Linked DNA regions of Homo sapiens: regions 1 and 2 are each linked to region 3. The links are contacts of gene promoters, found by promoter capture Hi-C in human tissues and cell types (Jung and others, 2019). All regions are on one chromosome and are shown on one strand. Each heading gives the region's core, a stretch centred on a gene start or on the middle of the fragment in contact. The rest is flanking DNA. Distances are from core to core; before and after follow the strand shown.

The links. Contacts are between HindIII fragments. The study calls those that stand out against the background at their distance.
Region 1: a fragment that was not itself captured here is called in contact with the fragment with the promoter of COL3A1 in region 3 in 4 of the 25 tissues and cell types used here (H1 embryonic stem cells, IMR-90 fibroblasts, bladder and 1 more).
Region 2: a fragment that was not itself captured here is called in contact with the fragment with the promoter of COL3A1 in region 3 in 4 of the 25 tissues and cell types used here (IMR-90 fibroblasts, bladder, mesenchymal stem cells and 1 more).

Annotation. Positions count from the first base shown.
Region 1 is chr2:188,723,307-188,727,667 of GRCh38, reverse strand. All of the region lies in intron 2 of LOC105373790 (a long non-coding RNA gene), which reads right to left. Among named protein-coding and RNA genes, the nearest start is that of DIRC1, 65 kb to the left of the region's middle. The HindIII fragment of the contact is 3,898 bases long and covers 2-3,899 here.
Region 2 is chr2:188,837,727-188,841,863 of GRCh38, reverse strand. No RefSeq gene overlaps it. Among named protein-coding and RNA genes, the nearest start is that of DIRC1, 50 kb to the right of the region's middle. The HindIII fragment of the contact is 4,294 bases long and covers 1-3,437 here.
Region 3 is chr2:188,971,598-188,975,701 of GRCh38, reverse strand. COL3A1 (collagen type III alpha 1 chain) reads right to left here and starts at 1,329. Exons shown (of 51, transcript NM_000090.4): 1 at 1,134-1,329. The coding sequence starts at 1,212. The region is part of intron 1 of LOC105373791 (a long non-coding RNA gene); the gene reads left to right. The HindIII fragment of the contact is 6,513 bases long and covers 1-4,104 here.

The DNA.
Region 1 (4,361 bases), core at 701-3,200, 250 kb after region 3:
TTACTTTTAAAAAAAATCTGCATTAAACACTTTCATGTACATAGTAGGCACATACTAGGAATTAAAATCATGGTAAATAAATTTAATTGAACACACTTTGTGTTACTCTTTCTGTGAAATCCTTGGAGAATGTTATGCTTCCTTTAAGCATTAGTGCTGGTACCTTGAAAGGTTACAGTTGAAATAATATTTTGAAAGAAAACATCCAGGCATTCAGAATGAGCCAAAATGCTTTTGTCAGTCAGGTGGGACTCAGACTGAAATTCTTTGTCCACAACATGACACTACCAAAACCAAAGCTCATGGTGTGGACAGCCAATTAACATTTAAGTTGGCCCAAGAGAAAAGACAAAACTCTTTAACTTGCAGGATAATCCATTCCATTTATTGCTTATGAAGAACTACAATGATTTGCCTAATATAAACAACATAAACATTGAAAATATTATCTATTTTAATAGAAATGTTGCAATACAAACATAATTTATATCTGATGAACATGATATAGTTCCTTAGCATAAGTAGCTCTTATATAAAGCCTGACAAACAGGAGTGAGGCACTAAGTGATCATGTTCAAGCTTGTCCTGTAACCGAACAAATCATCCAAAGAAGTGCTATCTTTCTCTACCTCACTGAAGGGGGCGTAAATATGATTGTATTTAGTACACTCATGTGGATATGTAGTGGAAACATTTGCACATATCTAGCCTACTCTAGATTCCTTTATGACTTCGTGTTACTAGAAAACAACACAAAAAAACTAGAGGTGCAGTTAAGAAACTGAATTAATCAAAACTTTTTTCTCTATTCTCTCTTACCTCTCTCTCTCTCTCTCTCTTTGTCCTTCCTTGCTTTAACTGATCTTTTTGTGGTCACAGATGTTACTAATGATGCATAAATTGCTGGACCCAATGTAAAAAATATCTCACAAAAGAAATTCTATTCTTTTAGTGTTATTGCCAGATATAAATTGATTCCATGCTATGTGGCCACCATTCTTCTTGATTCTGTTTCTGTCAGCCCAGAAATGTATTCTCTTGCATTGACATTTGATGTTTTAGTTCTTCTCGCTATTTAATATGACATAATTTATTTTATTGTGGGGAGGGGGTGAGACAGAAAGTAGGTTTACCTAACTTCTCAGAAAATTAAAAATAGGAAATGATCATTTAAATGCCTCACTTTGCTTTATTTTTAAATTTGTCTATATTTTAACTCATTTCTAATAGTCCAGTGAGATCTTTTAAAATATACTTTAAAATATATTTTGATAATTAACAGATATTAAATGTTCAGATAGTATTTTTTAAAATTATAATTACAAGAAAATTGTCACAAAGTCTTCTCAAAACTAAAATTTCACCTGTTGAGCATTCCCTAAATAATTTTTAGATTACGAAGTGATTACAACTGACTTGATACTTAAGCAAAACTCTAGTAAGTATGTCTACTCCCTGAATGTTTTCATGCGATAGATTCCTTTCTCATGAGTCATACATTTTGGGCATCCTACTGAAAGATAAGTTACAAAAACTTTTTAAGTGGTTAATTTGTCATTTTAATGTATGTATTTTAAATAGGTTGAAACCAAGAAAAAAAAATGTTAAAATATAAGATATTGGGTATGCACCCTTATTTATTTATTCACTGTGAGTATGCTGTGTAAGGCAAGATCATGATGCCTTCTCCAGATACTTGAAGGAAGACTTAAGTGATCTCACAGACTTTCGCTTCTTTATATTATTTTATCCCCAGATGATGTAGGTCATACTTTAAAAGATAGTGGGAATTTGGAATGTGATGATTTCCAAAGCATCCCTCCCACTCCCAAAAGTATCTTTATTTCTCTTCATATTATTCCAGAATATTTATTTTAAAGGAATTTCAAAACACATGGAAACATTTTCAGAAATGTTACATAGACAACACTAATAAGGATGTCATTAAAAATCGCATCTTTTTACACTAGTATGTTAAGATCTGTTCATTGTTCATGGTTGTTGAGAAGTTAATGCAAAGAAAAGTTGAATACAGATTACACTTTTTTGGTATCCAGGTTGTGCAATTTTACCTTATTTCTTCCAATTTTCTCCTCCAGTGGAAGACTTCAGGACTATAGATAGACCTGCCAGCAACCCAGAATATAAGTTTCTAATTTGCGTGTATGTTAAGCACAAAGAAAGTAGGTGATATGGCAAATGTATTTGAAAATAATGAGCAATTTAGCAGAAGCAAAAGACACAAAAAGGATCATTTTATGTGTCAAAAGCACCTAGTAAATAGAGAAATCCAGTGCTTTTTTTGGTTAAATGGAGGTATATATCTAGCACATATTAAAAGAGATCACTGCAATGACACCTTCGTTTTGAGTCTATCTAAACTGTAACTTTAAATGTATGCTAATGATTCCAATTTCAATGGTTTGAGAGACTAACTCAAAGTGGGAGTGATTTACTATCTTTATTTTTAGTAGCTTTATTGAAGTATAATTTATATACAAAATTACACTTATTTAATGTGTACAATTTGATGAGTTTGGGCATATGTATACACCCATGAAATCATCACCAGGATCAAGATAATAGACATATTCATCACCACAAAAAGGTTTTGTGTTCCATTGATTTCTGTTTGTTTGTAATAAGAACACTTAACATGAGATCTACTCTCAACATATTTTTAAGTGTACCATACAGCATTGTTGCCTATAAGCATTATGCAGTACAGCAGAACTCTGGAACTAATTTATCTTGCACAACTGAAACTTTATATGAATCGAACAACTCCTCAATTTCCATTTTTCCTTCCCCCACCCCATAGTAACTATTGTTCTTCAGTTTGACTATTCTAGGTGCCTCATATAGGTGGAATCACGCAGTATTTGTCCTTATGGGCCTGGCCTTTTTCACTTACCATAATGTCCTTTAAATTCATCCACATTGTTGCAAATGGAAGGATTTTTTTCTTTTTAGAGTTGAGTAATATTCCACTGTATGTATATACCATATTCTCTCTGTCCATTCATCTGCTGATGGATATTTGGGTTGTGTCCATAATTTGGCTGCTGTGAATAGTGTTGCAATAAACATGGGAGTGATGATGTCTCTGCAAGCTTATGATTTCAATTCTTTGGGCTATATATTCAAGAGTAAGATTGCTGGATCATATAGTAGTTCCATTTTTAATTTTTTGAGGAACCTCCTTACTGTTTTCCATAGTGGCTGCACATTTACAGTCCTAACAACAGTGTAGAAGAGGTTCCATTTCTCCACAGAATTGCCAACACATGTTATTTCTCCTTCTTCTTTTTCTTCTTCTTCTGATGCTGCTGCCTCTTCTTATTCTTTGGCCTCCCAAAGTGCTGGGATTACAGGTGTGAGCTGCTACACCTGGTGTGCAGTTTTTTAACAGCATAATTAGATAAGCAGGCATTGTCAGAGGGCAGTATCTAGAGAAGTTATATCCTTCTTCTCTTTCTCCTTCTCCTTCTCCTTTTCCTTCTTCTTCTTCCCATCCTAACAAGTGTGAGGTGATATTTATGAATTTGATTTGCATTTCCCTGATATTTAGTGATATTGACCATCCAATCATACACCTGGTCACCATTTGCATGTCTTTGTTATAGAAACCAGTTGTACGACATGATACAGGTAAATTTCTAATAACGGAGTTCAATGTAAAGATAGTTAAAGCAACATAAGCTTATATGATATGAAGGCAATTAACTTGCAAACACAAAGAAAGTCTTGTAGGTACAGATAATTGTATTTTAATTGTTTTATTTCTAAAAAGATTTGCTTTCTTCCATATAGATGTTTGCTCTTGAAATAGAAAAATCATATTATATTTTCTACGTATGTTATCATCACAAAATAAAGAGCAAGGGGAGGCATCTGTCTGCTGGGGCGGGTGACACAGGCATTTCTGCTTCCTTTGGGTACCAGATTAGTCCACCATAAGCAAGTGTCAGTGACAAAGATGGAGTTACTTATGGGTCTAATCCTGAAGATTGAAGGCCACTGTTGGTAGCTGCCAAGAATTTCCTCCACAGCTGGAGCTCCAGCTACAGGCTGTCATTATCAGTTTACCTTTAAGCTTTAAATTAAATAAAATAGAATTTTTAAACTTATGTTTATATCAAAATTCATAGTAGAAAAAATAATGAGTTCAGTAAAATGTACTATTAAGCAAAGATTCATTATTCTACACATGTAATTGAATTTTTGCATTGAGCAAACAGGCAGCTATAAACTCTCAAATTAGTTTTGCTGTGTGGAAAAAGTGGAACTTTTATGTTACAAGTAGATCTTTTTCCTTTATATATATAGTTCCCTTTTATAGTGGTATCCCAGTTCTCTTT
Region 2 (4,137 bases), core at 41-2,540, 130 kb after region 3:
CTATTTTGAATAGTGCTGCAATAAATATACATGTGCACATGTCTTTATAATAGAATAATTTATAATCCTACTTCTGTCAATTTGTCAAGCTCATTCTCCATCCAGTTTTGTTCCCTTGCTGGCAAGGAGTCGTGATCCTTTGGAGAAGAGGCATTTCCATTTTTAGAATTTTCAGCCTTTTTATGCTGTTTTTTCCTCATCTTGATGGATTTATCTACCTTTGGTCTTTGATGTTGGTGACCTTCAGATGAGGTTTTTGAGTGGACGTCCTTTTTGTTGATGTTGATGTGATTCCTTTCTGTTTGTTAGTTTCCCTTCTAACAGTCAGGCCCCTCTGCTGCAGTTCTGCTGGAGTTTGCTGCGAGTCCACTCCAGACGGTGTTTGCCTGGGTATCACCAGTGGAGGCTGCAGAACAGGAAAGAATTTTACCTGTTCCTTCCTCTGGAAGCTTCATCCCAGTGGGGCACCCACAAGATGCCAGCCGGAGCTCTCCTGTATGAGGTGTCTGTCGACCCCTGCTGGGAGATGTCTCCCAGTCAGGTGGCCCAGGGTTAAGGGACCCACTTGAGGAGGGAGTCTGTCCCTTTGCAGAGCTTGAGCACTGCTTTGGGAGATCTGCTGCTCTCTTCAGAGCTGGCAGGCAGGAACGTTTAAGTCTGCTGAAGCTGTGCCCACAGCCATCCCATCCCTTCCCCCAGGTGCTCTGTCTCAGGAAGATGGGAATTTTATCTATAAGCCCCTGACTGGGTCTGCTGCTTTTCTTTCAGAGATGCCCTGCCCAGAGAGGAGGAATTTAGAGAGGCAGTCTGGCTATAGCAGCTTTGCTGAGCTGCAGTGGGCTCCGCCCAATTCAAACTTCCTGGTGGGTTTGTTTACACTGTGAGGGGAAAACAGCTTACTTAAGCCTCAGTAATGGTAAATGCCCCTCCCACCACCAAGCTTGAGTGTCCCAGGTTGACTTCAGACTGCTGTACTGGCAGTGAGAATTTCAAACCAGTGGATCTTAGCTTGCTGGGCTCCATGGGAGTGGGATCTGCTGAGCTAGGCCACTTGGCTCCCTGGCTTCAGCTCCCTTTCTAGGGGAGTGAACGGTTCTGTCTCACTAATGTTCCAGGCATCATTGTGGTATGAAAAAAAACTCCTGCTGCTAGCTCGGTGTCTGCCCAAATGGCTGCCAACTTTTGTGCTTGAAATCCAGGGCCCTGGTGGTGTAAGCACCTGAGGCAATCTCCAGGCCTGTGGGTAGCAAAGACCATGGGAAAAGTATAGTATCTGGGCTGGAATGCACCATTTCACATGGCACAGTCCCTCAAGGCTTCCCTTGGCTAGATGATGGAGTTCCCCGACCTCTTGCGCTTCCCAGGTGAGGTGACACCCCATCCTACTTCAGCTCACCCTCTGTGGGCTACACCCAACTGTCTAACCATTCCCAGTGAGATGAGCCAGGTACCTCAGTTGGAAATGCAGAAATTACCCCCTTCTGCCTTAATCTCGCTGGGAGCTGCAGACCAGAGCTGTTCCTATTTGGCCATTTTGCCTACCACCTTCCTCTACATTTTTAATGTAGGCATTTGTTGTTATAAACTTTCTTTCTTTTCTTTTTTTTTTTTTTTTTTTGAGATGGAGTCTCACTCTGTTGCCCAAGCTGGAGTGCAGTGGCGAGATCTCAGCTCACTTCAAACTCTGCCTCCAAGGTTCAAGCAATTCTTGTGCCTTAGCCTCCTAAGTAGCTGGGATTACTGGCACCCACCATGATGCCCGGCTAATTTTTTGTATTTTTAGTACAGATGGCATTTCCCCATGTTGATCAGGCTGATCTTGAACTTCTGATCTTAGATTATCCACTCTCCTCAGCCTCCCAAAGTGCTGGGATTATAGGCATGAGCCACTGCGCTCAGCCTGTTGTTATAAACTTTCTTTTTAGGTCTGTTTTTGAAGCACATGATGGGTTTTGGAATGTTGTGTTTCCATTGCCATTTGTCTCATGACATTTGGCTCAATTTCCTCTTTGAGCCATTGGTTGTTTAGGAGCATGTTGTTTAATTTTCAAATATTTGTAATTTTCTAAGATTCCTACTGATATTGATTTCCAGTTTTATACTATTGTGTTCTGAAATGATACTAGACATTATTTTAATCTTCTTAAATATTCATGGTCTAACATATGGTCTATACTGGAGAATATTTCACATGTGCTAGAGAAAAATGTGCATTCTGCTGCTGTTGGGTGAAAAGTTATGTGTATGTCTGTGCTATGGATTAAATATGTTCTGCCAAAGTTTTTAAGATTTTGTGTTGGAAATCTAATTCCCAATGTAACAGTGTTGAGAGGTGGGACCTTTAAGTGATGATTAAGTCACAAAGGCTTTCCCCTCATGAATGGGTTAAGTTGTAATCAGAGGAGTCAGAGTCTTATTGTGGGATTGGGCTCCTGATGAAAGAATGAGTTCAGCCCCTTTCCTCTCTAATGTATGCACATGTTCTCTTGCCTTCTGCCTTCTGCCATGGAATGATGTAGCAAGAAGCCTCTCATCAGATGCACGCCCATCAGCCTTGTACTTTCCAGCCTCTAGAACTGTAAGAAATAGATCTCTGTTCTTTCTAAGTTACCCAGTCTCAGGTATTCAGTTATAGGAGCAAAAAAATGGACTAGGACATTCTGTTAGGTCCATTTGGTCAAACGGGCAATTCAAAATTAGAATTTTCTTATTTTTTTTGTCTTGTTGATTTATTTATTTTTAAAAGTGGGGTACTGAAACCCAATACTAATATTTTATTTCTATTTCTCCCTTCCATTAATATTTGTTTTATGTATTTAGGTGCTTCTCTGCTGGGTGCATAGATATTTATAATGGTTATTTCCTATTGACAAATTGACCCCTTTATCATTAAATAATGACCATTTGTCTCTTGCAATTTTTGACTTGAAGTCTTTTTATCAGATATAAGTATAGTCACCCCTGTTCTCTTTCAGTTACCATTTACATGGAATATCTTCTTTCATCCTTTTCCATTCAGCTCATGTGTACCTTTAAAGCTTAAGTTGGTCTCTTGTAGACAGCATATCGTTAGATTTTTTTTTTTTTTAATTCACTCAACCATTCTGTCTTTTGATTGGGGAATTTAATTCATTTCAACTCAAGGTTACCTTTGATAGGTGAGGACTTACTACTGCCATTTTATTATTGGTTTTCCAGTTGTTTTGTAGATCCTTTTTCCTTTCTTTCTCACTTGTTGTGTATGTTATGTTTGTGATGTGATAATTTTCTGTAGTGCTAACCTCTTATTCCCTCCTCTTTATTACTAGCTTTTGTAGGTTTTTGTTGTTGTTTTGTGATTAGCATGAAACTTCTATAATGCCTCATGATTATAATCTACTATTTTAAGCTGATAGCAACTTAACATCTGTCACATACAAAATCTCTAGGCTTTTACCCTACCCTTCCACAATGTATGATTTGATGTCACAATTTACATCTTTTTATATTATGTATTCCTTAACAAGTAATTGTAGCTTTAGTTATTTTTGGCCATTTCGACTCTACTAAGAGTCAAAACATATCTTCATACTAGAGATATATATGATCTATTCACCAACATTACAATATTTAAATATTCTGGATTTGATCACATGTTTACTGGTATTAGTTAGTTTCATACTTTGTGATAAACTCATACATGTATTTAAGATTTAATTATGTATAATTCACATGTATTTATATGTATTTGTGATTATTATCCTTTTATTTCTACTTGAAGAACCCCCTTAAGCACTTCTTGTAAGGTAAGTCTAGTGGTAATGAATTTCCTCAGTTTTTGCTTGTCTGTGAAAAGCTTTATTTCTCCTTCATTTTGGATAGATAATTTTGCTGGGCATGGTATTCTTGTCTGATAATTTTTTCTAACAGCACTTTGAATATTTATCTCATTCTCTCTTGACCTGTAAGGTTTTTGTTGAGAAATCTGTTGATAGTCCAATTGAAATTTCCTTATATGTGGAAAGGAAAAGCATTATTACTTAATTATTTTCCCTTGCTATGTTTAAAGCTCTGTCTTTGTCTTTGACTTTTGAAAATTTGAAAAAAATGGGCCTTGGAAATTGCATCTTTAGGATGAATCTATTTAGAAACTTTTGA
Region 3 (4,104 bases), core at 80-2,579:
TACCCCTCCCCTCATACACACATTTACATGTATTAGCTATGAGGACAACAAATACATTTGATATTACAAACAAAAACCAAATTTTCATGCAGTGTCCTTTGCAAAATCTATATGTTTAAATGTAACCATGTTTAGTTATGTGCAATAAAAATTGTCTAATAATTTCTCCTAGCTATCTTTACATTTAGCACTTAAATATTTATTTCTATGGAAGTTTGTATTCCAATTTGTTCAGCATTTTCATGACTATGGTAAATAAAAGAATATTTTCACATAAATAATGAGACAAATGTGTTTTTAGGGGAAATTAGAATATGAAAAACATTACATGCAATTATTAGAAAATATAGCAAAACAGCTTTCTGAAGTCAAACAGTACTAGTATCTTTACCTTGTTTGCAGCAAAGTCAAACCTCCTGTTGAAACATTTTAAAAAATATTTTCTTCATTAATGCGAATGTGGTTAAAACGTAGAATATGTGGAAAATATTAGTCCCTTAATATCAAGCTACTAGAAAAGATGAATTAATCAATCATTCTTGAAACAAAATAAAAACAGGAATAATAAAATATTTTAGCAGTTTGATCCCTTTGAAGAATGTTTATAGGTATCTTGTAGCCATTTTACAGAAATATATTCAATGATTCTGATAATGCGTAGAATCTTCCTTTAGACTGTTCTTAATCCATGATATTTGAAAGGCATTCTTATTCAGAAAACAATGCTCAATATTCTAACCTTACAAAGAATCCAGCAGACAAAGAGGAACATAAAATTATTGCAAGAGACCAATAACTTCCAGACTGCCTGGGGAAGTATTCCAAGATGTTAACAATCCAGGAGGGAAAAATTTTAAAGCCATTTTTAAAAGTTTCCAGTGCCTTTAACATGAAAACAAGTTAGTACAAGAACATCTTATCTTAACCACAGAACTCTTAAAAACACACATAACGCGATTATTTTTCAAGTAATGTAAAAAGCACAGCCATGGTCAGTTCAACGTTTCACAATCTGGAGCTTATAGAGGAAATTATCTTGAATCAGGCAACTGATTTTCCCCTTTACACCCCTCTTTGTGAGGAGAAGAAAGACAAAAATCCCATAAAGTTTCTTGAAATCAGTACCTACTCACCTTCCTGTTGTGCCAAAATAATAGTGGGATGAAGCAGAGCGAGAAGTAGCCAGCTCCCCTTTTGCACAAAGCTCATCATGTCTAAATATCAGACATGAGACTCTTTGTGCAAAAAGGAGAAAAGAAAAGCAGTTCAAAGTAGCACCATCAAGTTGTTCCCTGCCCTTCAGCACCGGGCCCGTCATAAAACTCAGCCACTGAGATTCCTTTGCTTTGGCCTTAAATAGGAAAAAGTTTGGCTTCCCTCACTTTCCAGCCCCTTTCTGAAATATGAGAGCCGCACCCATCCCCTCAGCAGTAAAAGAAATGATAAATATTTCTTTTTCCCTTATAGAAGACACAACCCACAGTAAGAAAAAGAGCACATCTGGAGTTTGTATGCATCTGCTTATGTAAAAGTTTTTTTACATATTTCACTCTTACATATATGTTTGTATAACTTAGGAACGTATAGAAATGCTCTGCCTTGTTTTAATACATACAATGTAAATGCATACATTTTTATTTCCCCTTATGAAGTTAACAACTGCATAATTTTGAAAAACTGCTTGATGCCCATTTATCTAGTATGTCTAATTTACAGAACTGATCTTCCTAGAAGATTTTTATGTTGGGATTTTGCCAGAAGTAATCCTAACTCAATTTAAATAGGAGACTGTAAGAGACTCACGGAAAGAAATGCCACCGTATGCCCCTTCGACTCATCCACCCACCCTGGGTCCTAGAAGTTAAGTTTCAGGCAAATATCAAAAGACAAAGTATTTCAGCAATGTTTGAATGGCTTCCTAAAAGTTAGATACTTATCTATAGCTGTTTCCATTTCTCACAAATTTCTTTAGCAAGCCAGAGTGCTTTCTTGTGAGATTTCCAATTTTTATGCTGCCTGGGAAAGACAGAGCAGATTTTTCTAGAGAAAAATTCAGCCTTTTCATGACATAACTTTTTAGGAAACTGGAAGAGAAAGAGTTTATCACATAGAATAGCAAAAGAGTACCAGAGAAAGTGGTCATTTTTTCTGCATTACTCTAAAGATTAGTATAAATATTTCTAATTTAGACTTTTATGTGTATACTTTCCAGATCCTCATCCACAAAACTTTCCAATGTATTTCTGGATCTATCTAAGCAGTAATTTTTGTGTCATATTTGAAAGAGGGGCAAATACCATTTATAGGTCTTTGATAAATCTCTGCAGGAAAAATATGCTTGTCCACAGTATAAGGCTATATCTGGCAATGGAGATATCTCTTTACACCCTAATCATCAGTTCATAGTTAGTTCATCTATCTCTATAATCTACGGTGGACATTTCAATTCTAATCAAGGTCACTTGAACTAATTTTCTTCACCTTCACCTAAACATGTCCGTCTCTATGCCTGTGCACATAAAATTCTCCCCATTTCACACCAATTAATGGAAGTCACTTCCTTATGCCTCAATGCAAAACTTTCCTCCTTAAGTAAATTACCTCCTTTAAACTAATTTTCATCTTTCTCTTTCTTCTAATTTGTGTTACTAAATTTTCACTCAACTCATGTCATATGTATATTCCCAGGTGTACATGAATCCTGTAAGCATGGACAGTGGCAAACTTGCTTTCTTGTTTCTTGCATCTTTTTTTTTTTTTTTTTTGCGACGGGGTCGCCCTCTCTCGCCCAGGCTAGACTGCAGTGGCGCAATCTCGGCTCACGGCAAGCTCCGCCTCCCGGGTTCACGCCATTCTCCTGCCTCAGCCTCCCGAGTAGCTGGGACTACAGGCGCCCGCCACTACGCCTGGTTAATTTTTTGTATTTTTAGTAGAGACGGGGTTTCACCGTGTTAGTCAGGATGGTCTTGATGTCCTGACCTCGTGATCCGCCCGCCTCGGCCTCCCAAGCTTTCTTATATCTTCAGTCACAAGGACACAAACCAAGACATCTCAATGTAGATGACATCATTTGATGACAGGAAAGGAAAACTAGAACGAGACCAACCTCTTGTGTATCTTTATTTTAGATTGGAGAGTCACTGCTTGGGGGCGTGGGAGAAAAGTAACTGTTGAGAATGGTCATGAATATAAGCTTTTCTACTGGATCACAGTAGAGATGCTGGGGAAAGGCTGTTATATGCATCTTTCTGTCTTTCAGACATCTTTGTCCTGTACACAAAAAATATTTCCTGTGTTCAAACCAATTCAGAAACATAGTTTTTCTCATGATGTCTTTGTATCTACGTAGAATTCATATATCTATATTAGATTTCTCTCATTGTTTTAGGTGGTCTATAAAAGCTGAAATTTATTGAATTTCTTCATTAGATTTATTTTCCACTGTGAAAAATTAGAAATGTTATTTTTAAAATAATGCTTGTTATGCTTTATTTTAGGCATTATAAATAAAATTACTATTGTTCTAAAATTCTTAATTTGCTTAGCTATTCAAATAAAAGCCTTATACTCATGAGAAAAATTCATGATTGATGCACTCACTTAAGAAACATTAGCTGATGTTTTGCATATGGAAGGATTGTTGTATTTTAAGGTCTTCAGGAGAGACCTAGAGAATTCATTCTCCAGATATTCTGATTTACGATTCTTCACTACCTCGAATATGGAGGTTTTGCACTAGGATCCTTTGCATTCTGTGTCCCAGATCCTATTTTTCTACCTCCTGTCAAAGCATTTCCTAATACGGGGTCAAAGCATTTCTTAATACAGGGTCTGAACTAGGTGAAATGCATACACTTCTGAATCCTATTATGCCATCCAGGAACTGCTGTCCTCATTGTTATCTAGCCACACATTTCTTCCCATACTTCCCTGACTTCACTGATGTTAACCAGGACACATAAACATGTCATTTTGCTTTTTGGATTGCATTTGGAGCTTTAACACAAATCTAAATACCTGCACCAACTAAAGCACTGATTAATCTGGATCTCCTTTAACAAAGAGAGTGCCTGGAAAGATGAGGCAAAGCAAGGGTGTGGCAGA